Linked DNA regions of Homo sapiens: all the other regions are linked to region 2. The links are contacts of gene promoters, found by promoter capture Hi-C in human tissues and cell types (Jung and others, 2019). All regions are on one chromosome and are shown on one strand. Each heading gives the region's core, a stretch centred on a gene start or on the middle of the fragment in contact. The rest is flanking DNA. Distances are from core to core; before and after follow the strand shown. Region 1 overlaps UBE2H (ubiquitin conjugating enzyme E2 H). Region 2 holds the start of STRIP2 (striatin interacting protein 2). Region 3 has its middle 41 kb from the start of MIR183.

Region 1 (2,700 bases), core at 46-2,545, 430 kb before region 2:
GATTTTAGGGGGAGGGTAATGAATTTGTATTATTTGAACAAGAGTGTTAAGATACGAGATTTCAAATAAAATGGTTGGTTTTACTGGCTTTTTCTTAAAATAGTTCAGCACTAGTTAATGCTTGTGTAATTCAGTCTATTTTAGAATGTTTGATACTATGTATAACTTTTTTTGGAAACGGAGTCTAGCTCTGGCTTCCAGGCTGGAGTGCAGTGGCATGATCTCGGCTCACTGCAGCCACCTCCCAGGTTCAAGCAATTCTCCTGCCTCAGCCTCCTGAGTAGCTGGGACTACAGGTGGGCGCCACATGCCCGGCTAATTTTTGTATTTTCGTTACAGATGGGGTTTCACCATGTTGGCCAGGCTGGTCTCAAACTCCTGACATCAAGTAATCCGTCCGTCTTAGCATCCCAAAGTGTTGGGATTACGGGCGAGAGCCACTGTGGCCAGCTGATACTATGATAACTTTTTATTTCGGAGTTTTTTTAAGCTCAACTATTAAAATTACACATTGTAGAAATGTCAGAGAGCCAAAAGTGCAAGTAGAAATAATGGGAGAATCTTGCAAACATGACAACCATCCACACCTGTTTTCTTCTAGCCTTTTCCCATTGCTGTGATCCTAGTTCTGGTTCAGGTGTGGTGAGGTGGTGATGAGATTTGAAAAGTGCAGCGGAGAAAATACTACCACCACTAAGAATTCTACACTGTTAACATTTGTACTTACTTTCAGTTTCTTATTTATGTGCATATGTTTTAAACAGAGCAAATAATATAGAAGCACATTGTCCCTTTTTAAAAGGAATATATTAATAGTGTTAAAGTCTTTTTTTTTTTTTAAAGACAGTCTCACTCCGTCACCCAGGCTGGAGTGCAGTGGCGTGATCTTGGCTCACTGCAAGCTCCGCCTCCTGGGTTCAAGTGATTCTCTACCTCGGTCTCCCGAGTAGCTGGGACTACAGGCACACGCCACCACACTCAGCTAATTTTTTATTTCTTTTTACTAGAGACAGGGTTTCACCATGTTGGCCAGGCTGGTCTTGAACTCCTGACCTCAGGTGATCCACCCACCTTGGCCTCCCAAAGTGCTGGGATTACATGCATGAGCCACCGTGCCTGGCCAGATAAAGTCATTTTTAACCACTGTTTCCTCTTCTGTTCCCTTTTCCTATCATGACCCTGGCCCTGTGCCCTAACTGAAACAATTACTTTTGCAAATTTGGTATATGTTGGTTCAGTACAGTTTTCCTATACTTGTTACCATGGAGAATTGGTAGTTGTTTGTTTTAGTTTATTTAAATAACCTCAGCCTGTAAATATAACATCCTGCAACTTAAAAAAAAAAAACAAAACTCAGCTTTAGATGTATACAAGTTGATACACATGGATCTACTTCATTACCCTTGGCTGTATAGGACTCAGGTAGATGGATGTACTCCCCTTTATCCAACCCTATCCCATTGACAGGGTTGAATTTGGCTGTTGGCTTTTATAAATAATATTGCAACAAATACTCTCATGGGGCATCTGGGACATGTGTATTAGTATTTTTCTAAAGTTAATGTAGAATGTTTTTTACCCTAATTTTTCTCCTCTTAATACCAAGACATGAACATTTCCCATTATTAAAATGTCTTCATAAACCACATGCTTCTTAAATCTAGACTTTGAAACATCTTTAATTTCCTTAATGAAAAATTAATATTGGACACAAAGATTTTTTTTCATCAGAGTAACTTAAACATCACATAGGCCCTCTTGATTGTAGTAGATAGAACATTATGCTGTTTCAACACAGAGCATTTAAAAACAAAAGTTAAAAGTGTGAGTGACTAGAGTGGTCTAAGACTGGACTACTTGGACTTGGTATTCTTATCCCCTGTTTTCTACTTCAGGGGAAGTTTCTCAGGTTTTTGGAGACAATCTCTGTAGCGCCTCACTTGAGGCTCCTCCTCCAGTGCCATTTCTCTGCATCTTTCCTGACTCTTCCCATTTTACTCCGCCTACTGTATCAATACTTTATTCAGATTGCAGGTATTTATTGGTGTCTCTTGTCCCACTGCCACAGTGACCTCCTCAAGAATAGTGAACTGTCTTATTTTTATACCCTATCCAAGCACAATGCCTGCGGTGTAGGTGCTGACCAAATATGTTCTGAATGAATATGAGAGAGAGAGACTGTGGGGATGGGGGTGATGGAGGATGGGGGTCGGAGATAGTGGTGGTGATACTCACCTTAATAAGGAACTTCAGATATTGAAAGTGTGGAACAGAATGAGTCCTAAAAGGAAATGAAGTGATAAGGATGACAAAATGACACCTTTGACAATGGATCTCTGCTTTAGAATATTGCCATTTGCATATATACTGACTGACTGAATAACTGGTTTTATTAATTTCTCCTTGAAGTTCAAATGGCCATATAGCTATTAAAGTGTGTACTTGGTTTGCTAGGAAAAATTTTAAAAACTTAAACCTCCAACAGATATAGCCAACTTAGAGTATTTTTTTTAACTCCTTGCTTGGTTGCCCCAATTTTAATCAAAACTGGGTTTCCCTGAATGAGTAGACTAATGTTAAAGGAAATATTTTGGTCACTGCTTTTAGGAAATCCTTTGTGGTTTGAAGTGGTATTCCTTTAGCATTTCAACAGTTTCATTCATGTTCCGTGCACAGTGCAGCCAAGTGATACCAGTAAGT
Region 2 (2,700 bases), core at 18-2,517:
TCAATTATCTCATTTTGACTTTATCACAACCTTCTGAGGTAGGCAGTGTTAATCTCATCTTACAGATGAAGAAACTGGAGCTCAGAGAGGTTCCGTAATGTGCCGAAAATCACACAGGTAGTAAATGATAGGGCTAGGAGTCAAAACCTGGTCTGACTACTCCAAAGTCTGGTGTTCTTGACCACCAACTATGCCAGATGTCTGATCTTGGGCAAGTCACTCCTCTTTTTTTTAGGTCTGTAAAATGAAAGGGTTATACCAGATGATATCTGCAGACCCTGCCACATCTGATATTTTGTCGTCTATTCTGATCCCCGCTCAGATCCAACTGATGGGAACTGCCTCAATGAGGGGATAGGGAAGTGATAATAATTCAACGCTTTCATCTTCATAGATAGGGTTTCTTTTTTCAGGAGAGGAGGAAGAGATCGAAATATTCACACTCCTATCTGTATCCTGCGACTGCTCCCTCCAGATAGCCACTCCAGGACTGCCCCTGCCTGAATCCCGTCTCGCTCAGCCCTCACAGGCAGGGGCCTGATGTCCGCGGAAGGCGCTCCCGAAACGGCCTAAGACTTACGGGGGGAAGGGGACGGGCAGGGAACGGGCAGAAGTCCCTCGGCTGGCCCAGGGGCCCGCCGCAGGCAGCCTGGGAGGGGGACTGCGGTTGCCCCACTCGCCAATCCTGCTTTCCTGCGGCTGAGCTCCAGCCTCCCACCCCTCAAGCCAGTCACTTAACCTCTCCGCTCCTGTTCCCCCGTCTATAAACTGGGATCGGAATTTCTGCTTCAGGGGGCTGCAGCGATTAAGTGAGATAAATATTTGGAAAGTATCTGGTCCGCTCAATACCGCGCTCATCTTCGCGCAGCGGGGGAAAGCCAGAGGGCTAGAAAGCCCCCAACCCGCGGCAGGAGACGGGCGGACACTGGTCCGGGCCAAAGAGCCCAGAGTTCAGCCGCTAGGACCCCGCAGGCGCCCACTGCGCGGGGCTGATCGAGCGCGCCGAGGGCTCCGGGGCCGAGGCCGAATCACCTCAGCCGCCGCTTCCCGCCGGCGGGCGTCTCCGGGCCCCAGCCGAAGCTTTCCGGGCTCCTCACCTCTGACTCCCGCCGCTGGCTTCGGAACGCTTCGCGGCCCTTGGGCGCCGCCTGCTTCCCTTTGCCGCCGCCGTTGCCATTGCCATTTGCGGGCGGGCCCCCGGTCCCAGGCGCGGCGGGGTCCTCCATGCTGCTGGTCAGCGGCTCCCCTCAGGGTTCAGCTCGCTTTGCCGGAGGCGACCCTACCGCCGCGCGCCGGGAGCCAGGCCCCGCCCCCTCCACCTCTATTGGTTACGGCAGCTCGCCGCAACCCCGCCCCGCGAGGCGATTGGCTGCTCGACCGGCCGGAGCGGGACTCGAGGAGGTGGGGGCTCAATGAAGAGATTTTTGAGGGGATCTTTTTAGTCCTGCGGCATTGCTGGCGGACGGAGACTCCTAGGTTAGCTACAGGCTCCACACCTCGCGAAAGCTGGGCCTTGAGATCAGGCGGGTTATCTCTGTGCTCCTCACTCGGTGTCTCTCAGCTCTCACCCCCGTCCCTGTAGCGACCTTTTCCGGAGCTCTAGTCTCCGCCTACTGCTCCACAGCAGTCTCCGTTTCCCTGTTACCACCGACCCGGCCCCCCATATCCCGGCTCCTGCACACGTCCCATATCCCGCTTAGTCTCAGGGGAGGGATGGCACCGCCAGGTGGCCAGGGACATCGCCCGAAACGAGGGACTCGCTGTCTCTGGAAGCTGAGAATTCTCAGCGTTTTTCTGAAGAGAACGCATCTCGCCCGGAGCTAGGGCTTGGCTGGGAGACTGGAGGTCTAAGGGTGGGATGGGGGAGTTTTTCCATCACTGAAATTGGTGGTGCCCTCGAGGGCTGCTCCTGTCATCTGCCCTTCTCTGCTGTAGGGGGCCTCTTCCTCATGGTGTGTAAATGTTGAGGGTAGAGCAAGCCCCCACCCTCACCTGCTCGCCAGTCCTTTCTTTCCTTCCTCTCTCTTAGATGCTTCCTAAGGGCTCATTGTTACTGGGGGCAAAAGAGGCTGTTTGATCTGCCCTCTCCTGAATTTAAAAAGTAGCTTGTAGTAAATATTTAGACAGTCTGGCTTGGTAATAGAAGCCCCAAAGACGTAGGCTCAGGGGAACAGGTGGGACCAAATCGCTGTCCCCAGCCTGGTTGCTTTAGGAAGGGTCTGGGGGATTGTTGAACTGAGCTTGGTGCCAGGCACTGCAGTAAGCGCTTTCCAAATATCACATCATACCTCTCCCCGACAGGGTGTTTTTACGAATCCAATGTTACTGATGAAGAAACCGGCACTTGCAGATTCCTCCCTGCGGTTTCCAAGGTATCATATTCTATCTTGTCTCAGGGTCTTGCCTATGCTGTTCTCTGGAGGAGACTGTCTTCTGTTCTCCTGGTTGATTCCTTTTCTCTCATAAAGATTCTAGTTAGTTGTCACCTCCTCCTCCTCCACAAAGCTTTCCTTTTAGCCCTCAACTCATTCAGGTTGTGTTGGTGTCAAACCAGTTCTGCCTAGATCCAAAATCCTAACATTTTCCACGATATACCCAAAGCAAAGGGCCTAGAGGAATTACTCCACCTTCCCATACCTTAGGGACAACCCTGTCCCTTTCTTAACATCTCTCTCTCTCTCTCACTTTTCCCTTTGCCAG
Region 3 (2,737 bases), core at 72-2,571, 380 kb before region 2:
AAGAAATAAAATATCTGGATAGACCTATAACAAAAAGCTTGACTTAGTAGTTTGAAAACTGTCCACAAAGAAAAGCTCAGGCCAAACCAGTTTCACTGGTGAACTCTACCCAAAATTTAAAAAGGAAATAATGCCAAATTTTGACACTCTTACCAAAAGATAGAAGAGAAAGGAGCACTTTTCAACTCATTTTATGAGGCTAATAGTATTGTAATACCAAAATCAGACAAAGATATCATAGGAAAAGAGAACCACAGACCAATATCTCCTATGAATATAGATGGAAGAATCCTCAGTGAGATACTGGCAAACCAAAACCACTAACGTGTGAAATGTATTATACACCGTGACCAAGCAGGATTTATCGCAGGAATGCAAGGTTGGCTTAACATGTGAAAATCAATTAATGTAATACATTGTATTACTAGAATAAAGGACAAAACCCACATAATCATCTCAATAGATGCAGCAAAAGCATTTGACAGAGTTCAACACCCTTTAATGATAAAAACACCTGACAAACTAGGAATAGAAGGAAAATTTCTCAACCTGTAAAAAAGAACTCACAACTAGCATAATGCTTACTGGTGAAAGACTGAAATCTTTCCCCTACATCAGGAATGAGACAAGGATGTCTGCTCTTACTGCTTCCTTTATTTATTTATTATTTTTTTTTGAGACAGAGTTTTGCTCTTATTGCCCAGGATGGAATGCAATGGCTTGATCTCAGCTCACTGCAACCTCTGCCTCCCGGGTTCAAGTGATTCTTCTGCCTCAGGCTCCCTAGTAGCTGGGATCACAGGTGCCTGCCAGCACACCCAGCTAATTTTTCATATTTTTAGCAGAGACGGGGTTTCACCATGTTGGCCAGGCTGGTCTCAAACTCCTGACCTCAGGTGATCCACCCGCCTCAGCCTCCTAAAGTGCTGGGATTACAAGCGTGAGCCACCGCACCTGGCTGCTCTTATCACTTCTATCTAACATTGTGCTAGAGGTTCTAGCCAGGGAGGTTAAGCAAGATAATTAAATAAAAAGCATTCAAATTGGAAAGGAATAAATAAAATTGTCTCTATTTGCAGATCACAGTCTTGTATATAAAAAGTCCTAAGGAATAGACTGATTAAAAATCTGTTCGAATGGGCTGACGGAGTGGCTCACACCTGTAGTCCCAGCACTTTGGGAGGCCGAGTTGGGTGGATCACCTGAGGTCAGGAGGTCAGCTGTAATCCCAGCTACCCAGGAGGCTGAGGCAGGAGGAACATGGGAACCAGGGTTCAGGGTTCAGAGGCTGCAGTGAGCCGAGATTGAGCCACTGCACTCCAGCCTGGGCAACAGAGCAAGACTGTCTCAAAAAAAAAAAAAAGTTCTGTTAGAATGAAGAAGTTTAGCAAAGTTGCAGGATACAAGATCAATATACAAAAATCAATTGTCTTATTTCTACATCTTAGAAATGACCAAACCAAAAATAAAATTAAGGAAACAATTCTATTTTCTCTTTTGTTTTTCTTTTTCGTAGAGACAGGGTTTCTTTCTGTCACTCAGGCTGGAGTGCGGTTCATGGTCATAGCTCACTGTAATCTCAAACTCCTGGGCTCAACTGATCCTTCTGCCTCAGCCTCCCAAAGTGCTGGGATTACAGGTGTGAGCTGCTTTGTCTAGCTCAATTCCATTTTCAGTAACATGAAAAATAATAAAATACTTAGGAATAAATGTAACAAAAAAAGCAAAATATGACATTGAAACTGTAAAACATCATTGAAATAATGTAAAGACCTAAATAAATATTAATAAGATATTCCTTCTTCATCTGTTGGAAGACATCTGTTGGAGATCGCACCACTGCACTCCAGCCTGGGTGACAGAATGAGTCTCTGTCTCAAAAAATAAAAATAAAAATAAATAAATAAAATAAATAAAAAAGTAGCCGAGCATGGTGGCGCATGCCTGTAGACCCAGCTACTCAGGAGGCTGAGGTGGGAACATCACTTGAGCCCGGGAGGTCAAGGCTGCAGCGAGCCACGATCATGCTGCTGCACTCCAGCCTGGGTAACAGAGTGAGAGCCTTTCTCAATTTTTTTTTTTTGAAAAAAGTAACACATAGTGCTGGGACAACTGGCTATACATATGCAAACAAATGAAGTTGGATCCCTATCTCACATTGTATACAAAAATTAACCAAAAGTGAATCAGAGACCTAAATGCAAAAGCTAACACTATAAACTGTAGAACTTTTACAAGAAAACATAGTTGTAAATCTTTGTTGGATTAGGTAATGGGTTCTTAAATATGACACCAAAAGCATAAGCAACCACAGAAGAAATAGATAATTTGGAACTTCATCAAAATTAAAAACTATTGTTCTTTAAGGACAGTATCAAAAAGGTGAAAAGACGACCCAGAGAATGGGAGAGAATACTTGTAAATCACATACCTAAAATAGGGGCCTAGTATCCAGAAAATACAAACAACTAGTACAACTCAACAATAAAAGATAACATAATTTTTTAAATGGGCAAAATATCTGAAGAGACATTTCTCCAAAGAAGATATACAAATGGCCAATAAGCATATGAAAACATCCTCAATATCATTAGTCATTACAGAAATGCAAATCAAAACCACAATAATTAGTCAGTCATGGTGGTGCACACCTGTAGTTCCAGCGACTTGGGAGGCTGAGGTGGGAGGATCTCTTGAGCCCAGGGGTTCAAGGCTGCACTGAGCCATGATCCTGCCA

What was found. Contacts are between HindIII fragments. The study calls those that stand out against the background at their distance.
Region 1: a fragment that was not itself captured here is called in contact with the fragment with the promoter of STRIP2 in region 2 in 1 of the 25 tissues and cell types used here (mesendoderm cells).
Region 3: a fragment that was not itself captured here is called in contact with the fragment with the promoter of STRIP2 in region 2 in 1 of the 25 tissues and cell types used here (lymphoblastoid cells).

The regions. Positions count from the first base shown.
Region 1 is chr7:129,859,362-129,862,061 of GRCh38, reverse strand. The region is part of intron 3 of UBE2H (ubiquitin conjugating enzyme E2 H); the gene reads left to right. Among named protein-coding and RNA genes, the nearest start is that of MIR183, 86 kb to the right of the region's middle. The HindIII fragment of the contact is 3,660 bases long and covers 1-2,700 here.
Region 2 is chr7:129,432,999-129,435,698 of GRCh38, reverse strand. It overlaps STRIP2 (striatin interacting protein 2), which reads right to left and starts at 1,267. Exons shown (of 21, transcript NM_020704.3): 1 at 1,098-1,267. The coding sequence starts at 1,226. RefSeq lists a silencer at 908-1,387. The HindIII fragment of the contact is 3,182 bases long and covers 169-2,700 here.
Region 3 is chr7:129,814,595-129,817,331 of GRCh38, reverse strand. No RefSeq gene overlaps it. Among named protein-coding and RNA genes, the nearest start is that of MIR183, 41 kb to the right of the region's middle. The HindIII fragment of the contact is 5,374 bases long and covers 1-2,737 here.